Regions from separate parts of the Homo sapiens genome. Here region 1 is linked to region 2. Evidence: promoter capture Hi-C in 16 types of primary human blood cells and fetal thymus (Javierre and others, 2016). All regions are on one chromosome and are shown on one strand. Each heading gives the region's core, a stretch centred on a gene start or on the middle of the fragment in contact. The rest is flanking DNA. Distances are from core to core; before and after follow the strand shown.

Region 1 (3,275 bases), core at 774-3,273, 210 kb before region 2:
GGGCTTCGCTCACCCCCGATAGGGGGCGCCAGGAAGCCAAGAAGGATGTGCAGCGGCGGACTGGTTCCAAGCCCCTTCAGAGGCGCGGGGTCTTAGGGGGAGGGACTGGCTTCCGGGCCCAAGTAGGAGGCAGTCCGGCTCTCAGGAGTGCTATAAATGGTTAAAGCCCCAGGCAGGCCCAGGGCTGGGCCTCCCAAGGCCGCCTGGACATCCAGCAGGAGTGGGGCCCCGAGCGTGGGGTCCTTCCCTAGGAGAAGTGGGACTGCGCTCACCAGGGGAAATGTTCCCCCTCCTTTCTTCAGGGAAGGAGAGCCCTGCCCGCCTGCCTTCTGCTCAGTTAGGATAAAACATCCATTCTTAACCTCCCCACTCTCGCCCAATGGTGAGGGCATGGGTGGCTCAAGGAACGCTCTGCAGTGCAGCCTGAACTCAGGATTTCCCTGCAAATTGCAGATTGCCCCCTCACTCAATCAAGGTAGCTCAGCCCAATCACGGCGTCCTCCCAGGTAGGAGTCATCACAACCATTACCTGGGCTTGGAGAATTTAACCCCTTGACCGCCAGCTCAGGCTCACCCCGCTCTGGAACCAAGGGCTGCATCTGCGTGAGAACCGCAGGGAGCAGCTGGGGAGGGGACCTAGCAGCTGAGGGGGACAGCTGGGAAATCACTGTGACAATTCTTCTAGAGACACGGCTTTGGCTCACAGAGAACAGCTATGGACCAGAGGGCTTGACTCAGCCACCCCTGGCCTCTGCCCTCCCCGACCCACTTCTTACCAAGGACAGCTCCATGTCCAAGTCCATCAGGGTCCATTCTCGCCCTTGGAGACTGGGGCCCAGCACCTGAGGAGAGCTCTGGGTCAGTGGTGCCCTCCCCAGGCTCCACAGAGAGCTAGACCCCACCAGGTCTCATGCCCCTGTTTCAGCAGAAGGGGTACTCACATCTAGAGGCCCTGCAGGTTCCACACTTTCTTGAGGGGGCTGAAGCAGCATCGGAGGCAGCAGACTCTCTGGGCTCCTGTCCCCGCTTTCCAGGCCCAGAGGCCCCCTGTGCAGACAGAACTGCTTTTGGCCTGCAGTGTCCACCCCGCATTAAGTTCCCAAGGAACCCAGATGCATCAAGATTTTAATCCCCCAATCTTTAGAAAATGATAGGAGAGGATCCCCATCCTCTCTCCACCCCCAACCTCCCCACTCCTGCCATAAATGGCACAGAGAAAGTGCCTCTGCTTCCTACCTGGGACCTGAAGTTTGGGTGGTGGAGCTGGGGCTTTGGGACCCTTCCCCTCCCTATGCAAGTATCAATATCCATGCTTCTTTCTCTTCTTTCTTTATTTCTTTCTTTCTTCCTTTCTTTTTTCTTTCTCTCTCTCTCTCTCTTTCCTTCTTTCTTTCTTTTCTTTTTTTTGGAGACAGTTTCACTATGTCACCCACTATGTCACTATGGCACTGTCTTGGCTAACTGCAGCCTCCACCTCCCAAGTTCAAGCGACTGTCCTGCCTCAGCCTCCTGAGTAGCTGGGACTACAGGCAAACGCCACCACACCCAGCTAATTTTTGTATTTTTAGCAGAGGCGGGGGGTTTCACCATGTTGGCCAGGCTGGTGTTGAACTCCTGACCTCAAGTGATCTGCCCGCCTCAGCCTCCCAAAGTGCTGGGATTACATGCATGAGCCACCTCATAGCCACCAATGCTTCTTAAACTATTGTGTACTTTGCAGTCACCCCAGGGAACTCATTTCATATGTAGGTTCCTAAGCCCTTCCGCAGATGCTGAGTGCCCTGACTGGGAGGCTCTGCTTTCCACAGAACTCTGATGCTGGGGCCAAGAAATCAGGTGAGTATCATGGAGTCAAATGGCTAGGAAGCTTTGTGGGCTGGTAAGGGCTGTTCTATCACAGGGCTCATGGGCCAGCTGGGGCTCTGCTCACCTGTCAGGTATCTCCCTGGGATCCCCTGGTTCAGGCTGTTGGGCATTCCTGGGCCCCTCGGGGCTGAAGCTCCCTTTCCCTTCCAGGATGGCCTGCACCACAGCCACAGGCAGTGGCGGGGGGGCTGTCACGCAGAAGTCACACTCGTTTGGGGCCAGGGCCAGCCCGGCCTCGCCATCCCCCCCTGGACTGGCCGGCTCTTCTTTGAGCAGTGCCAGGCCCTTCTCCCTGCACCAGAGAAAAGCTTCAACCAGACCCTGGCACTGACTTCTCCCTCTACCCCTACAGCCATCTGGGCTGCCAGGCCCTCCCCCACAGGCCCCTCAGGGGCAGCCCTGTCCCCCTTACCTCCTGCCATCACTGGAGGGAGAAAGCCTGGTCCCCTCAGGGGATGGAGAGTCTTCTGGGATGTCAGAGATGATGGGGCCCCTGGCCCTGTGAGGGCTAAGGCCCAAATTTGTCTCTGGGAGAGGCTGTAAGTAGAAGGCTAGGCCCAGCCCTTGGCCTGTAGGCACAGGGAGAGCCAGAACCCCACCAACACCCACCTGGGCCAGGTCTAAGGGAGAAGGTTTGAGGGAGGAGGCTCAGTCCATGCTGGAGGGCCTGGGTCTGGTTGGGGGGAAGGCTGGCTTCCATCTTCTCTTCCTTTTAGGGGATGGGGAGAAGGAACAGGCTCTCCATAAGCCCAGCCATGCCCTTGGGAAGGGGGAAGAAGACAAACCTACCGACTGGATGAAGTAGGGGTCCTGCAGAAGGGCACCAGGTAGAGGGCAGGTGTTGAACTTGGCAGGTGTTGGGCATGAGCTCCCCTCATCCAGCATCAGGGACCTGTGTGGTCGATCAGGGCACAGGCAGGGGTGGGGCAGGGTCAGCCCCCATGCACCTCGGCCTGCACTTCCCTCCCTCCCTCAGGCCCCAGCAGCCAAGTCAGCAGAGCTGAGGCCTGTTGCTAGGGTGTCAGTCACATGCTGGAGGTGGAAGGGGCTCCCCCTAGAGATGGGGGCCCTTTGTGGGTAGAGAGGGGAGGGAGGGAACCTGGTTTGAGCCCCAGGGTCTCAGCTGTTGGGAAGCCTTGCCGGAGGGGGAAGGGGCTGCTGGGGTAGGAATTTGGGAATAAGGTCCTGGAATGGGAGGATCTGGGAGTGGGGATACCAGGTGGCAGAGTTGGGGGGAAGTGGATCCTAGATGGGGTGAGGAAGCCTGTAGCGCAGGGGGAGGAATGAGGATTCCCGGTGAAGGAGTTTCCAGAGGAGAAGGGGTCCTTGCAAGGGGACTTCTGGGGGGTCTTGGAAGTGGGTGTGGGCCTTCTTGGCTTTCTCACTCACAGCTTTCTCTTGCCTCCTGC
Region 2 (3,330 bases), core at 717-3,216:
GCCTCGCACACGACCCAGGGTGGTGTCTACTTCAGGCTGAGCAACTTCGGGCCCTGAGGGAAGGACAGAAAGGCCACGGGGTGAGTTTGCAGCCCCCATGAGGGGAAGGAGTGAAAGACAAACCCTCAGGCTGTTCTCAGTACTTACCACACAGCATCTTGGTAACCTTCCCAGCAAGCCGGTGAGCCTGGTCTTAGGTTGACGCCCAACTTCCTCCTCCCTGCCTGCCTGAGAGTCACTACCACTCCACTCCAGGCCAGACCGGGCCTGCCACTAGGGCCTTGTGCCTTGGGGCCAGCCACTTGCCCATTTCTTTGTTTTTATTTTTTGTGTTTGAGACAGGGTCTAGCTCTGTTGACCAAGCTGGAGTGCAGTGGCACGATCTTGGCTCACTGCAACCTCTGACTCCCGAGTTCAAGCGACTCCAGGGCCTCAGCCTCCCAAGTAGCTGGGATTACAGGTGTGCACCACAACGCCTGGCTAATTTTTGTATTTTTAGTAGAGACGGGGTTTCATCATGTTGGCCAGGCTGGTCTCGAACTCCTGACCTCAAGTAATCCATCCACCTGGGGCTCCCAAAGTGCTGGCATTACAGGCATGAGCCATCATGCCCAGCCCTGAATTATTTTTTAAAAAGTAGAGATGGGGTCTCATTATGTTGCCCAGGCTGGTCTCAAACCCCTGGGCTCAAGCAATCCTTTCACCTCAGCCTCCCCAAGTGCTGGGACGACAGGTGTGAGCCATCATGCCCAGCTGGCACCATGTTTCTTGTACGGCCTGCAGAACTGTGGCCTAACTAAACTTCTTTTCTTTGTGAATTACCCAGCTTCCTGTATTCTTTTACAACAACACAAACAGACTAAGACTGGAGGACTGCCTCTCCCAGGCTAGACAATTCCTAGAGATAGGAGGCAGCTCTCTGGGGAGGTGGAATTGGCAGGCATCTCTCTAGGGAGCAAAGGCAAACCAGTCCAGAGCCATACCCAACCACCTCCTTTATACAGCTCTCAGCTCCTGGCTGCCATCCACCAGCCATAATCACCACAGAGCCGGGTACCAGGAAGCTGGCTGGGGACAGCCCCTTTCCCCAGAGCCTGCTGCCAATCGTAAACCTCTTTAGCCTGCCTTGCCTATTCCTTCCCGTGGCAACCGTGTCAAAGGGGCTTGCCCACATTTTCCCCCTGCTCCCTCTGCCTCCTGGCTGATGCCACCTGGTGCTTCCCTCTGTGGCCCTATGTGGCATGGCCTGCTTCCTGTTCACAGGGAACTACGAGCAAACTCCTTCCCTCATGATAGTCATTTGCATATCTGCTTGTCTTACTATACTTCATTAAAACAAATCTCAGGCCCCCTTAAGACATAAAGACAGGCCAGGTGCGGTGGCTCACGCCTGTAATCCCAGCACTTTGGGAGGCCGAGGCAGGTGGGTCACCTGAGGTCAGGAGTTTGAGACCAGCCTGGCCCACATGGTGAAACCCCATCTCTCCTAAAAATACAAAAATTAGCCGGCCATGGTGGCAGGTGCCTGTAATCCCAGCTACTCAGGAGGCTGAGGCAGGAGAATCGCTTGAATCCAGGAGGCGGAGGTTGCAGTGAGCCGAGATCGCGCCATTGCACTCCAGCCTGGGTAACAAGAGCAAAACTCTGTCTCAAACAACAACAACAAAAACAACGAAACAAATACAGCAAGAGCAGAGCGCCTGCCCAGAGAGAATGCACAACCCCTGGTCTGCCTCCAAACAGGACTGTTTCCTGAGCGGTCGGCCCACTGCTCCCTGTCCCTGTCTCACTCTTGACTCCTCCACACCAAGTACCTCTGCAGGCCCAGCAGGTGTGTCTTACCAGTGGCTGTGGCAGGGCATGCCAGGAGCAGACAGACCACCCCGACCAGGACCCCGGACTCCACTCTCACTGCTCTCTCCATTCTCCTTACAACTGGTTCGACAGAAGCTTCAGAAGGTGGAATAAGATCCCTGCCCTTCAGCACCACCGATCTCTAAAGGGCTGTGATATAGAACCTCCAAGGACAGCGCCACCTAGCTGGTGGCCAGCCCCATGCTCAGGCTGAGCCAGAGGCAGGGCTAGATGAGTGCCCTGCAGAGGCCTGGTTGATATGACAGCCCTCCCCGTCCCACTGTTTTCAAATTCCAGCTCTCCTGACTTGGTGATCTCCATGAAATCCTGTGCGTTCATCCCAAGGTGACCACATCACTGACCCTAGGAAGTGGTGGCCAGTGACCCTGGGGTGCCACTCCGAGTGGGCAACCCAGCCTGAGGTGAGGGCTTGATATGGTTTGGATGTTTTGTCCCCTCCAAATCTCATGTTAAAATGTGAAAGAAAATAAAACAGTGATGATAATAGGACCCACCTCATAGCATTGAAGTGAGGGTACATGTTTGCATGTGTGTGTGAGTGTGTGTGTGAAAACATGAGGCTTGGGACTGGGTGTGGTGGCTCATACCTGTAATCCCAGTGCTTTAGGAGGATGGGGCAGGAAGATCGCTTGAGCCCAGGAGTTTGAGACCAGCCTGGGCAACACAGGGAGACACGTCTCTAGAAAAAATAAAAAAAATTAGCCAGGTGTGATGGTGCATGCCTGTGGTCCCAGCTACTTGGGAGGCTGAGGTGAGAGGATCACTTGAGCCCAGGTTGTCGAGACTGCAGTGAGCTGTGATAATGCCACTGCACTCTAGGCTAGGCTATAGAGCAAGACAAAGAAAGAGAGAAAGAGAGAGAGAGAAGAAAGAAAGGAGAGAGAGAAAGAAGGAGAGAGAGAAAGGAGAGAGAGAAAGAAAAAGAGACAGAAAAAGAGAAAGAAACAAAAAGAGAAAAAAGAAAAATAGAGAGAGAAAGAAAGAGAGAGAGGGAGGGAGGGAGGGAGGGGAGGGGAGAGGAGGGGAGGGGCTTGGAACCAGAACTCATGGAAGCCTGAGGAGAGGAGAGTCTGGGAACCAGAACTGATGGAAGCCTGCTCTTGACCGGGGCGGGGATCTGCAGGGCATCTGTCTCTCTGCTGGCTTAGGAGGCTCCCACCCCCAGGGAGGGCAGGACTCACTTCTGGGCCTCAGTGTCAGGAACATGGCTGGCTGGGAGTAGGCGGTGGGAGGATGGATAGATATTTGCTGGCCCAGTGAAAGACAGAGTGAGGGTTGTGCCTAAACACGATGCCAGATCCTCTTCCGGGGCTCCAGCTGGCACCCAGAGCTGAAGAGACAGGCTTTAGGATGAAACTTCCCTTCTGCCAAAAATAACTAGTGCCAGCTGGGCATTGTGGCACAAGTCTGTAGTCCCAGCTACTCAGGCGGCTGAGGCAGGAGGATTGCTTCAGC

The links. The method cuts DNA at HindIII sites, captures the fragments that hold promoters and counts their contacts. A CHiCAGO score of 5 or more calls a contact.
Region 1: a fragment that was not itself captured here is called in contact with the fragment with the promoter of CES3 in region 2 in 4 of 17 cell types (erythroblasts, megakaryocytes, non-activated CD4 T cells and 1 more); the score reaches 7.4 in erythroblasts.

Annotation. Positions count from the first base shown.
Region 1 is chr16:67,166,603-67,169,877 of GRCh38, reverse strand. HSF4 (heat shock transcription factor 4) reads right to left here. Exons shown (of 13, transcript NM_001374675.1): 6 at 3,256-3,275; 7 at 2,656-2,758; 8 at 2,279-2,403; 9 at 1,931-2,158; 10 at 942-1,047; 11 at 777-842; 12 at 530-599; 13 at 1-247. The coding sequence ends at 93. Among named protein-coding and RNA genes, the nearest start is that of NOL3, 2.3 kb to the left of the region's middle. RefSeq lists an enhancer at 234-283. The HindIII fragment of the contact is 307 bases long and covers 1,870-2,176 here.
Region 2 is chr16:66,959,902-66,963,231 of GRCh38, reverse strand. CES3 (carboxylesterase 3) reads right to left here and starts at 1,966. Exons shown (of 13, transcript NM_024922.6): 1 at 1,843-1,966; 2 at 1-53. The coding sequence starts at 1,924. RefSeq lists enhancers at 1,775-1,984, 1,769-2,270, 2,075-2,324. The HindIII fragment of the contact is 21,813 bases long and covers 1,953-3,330 here.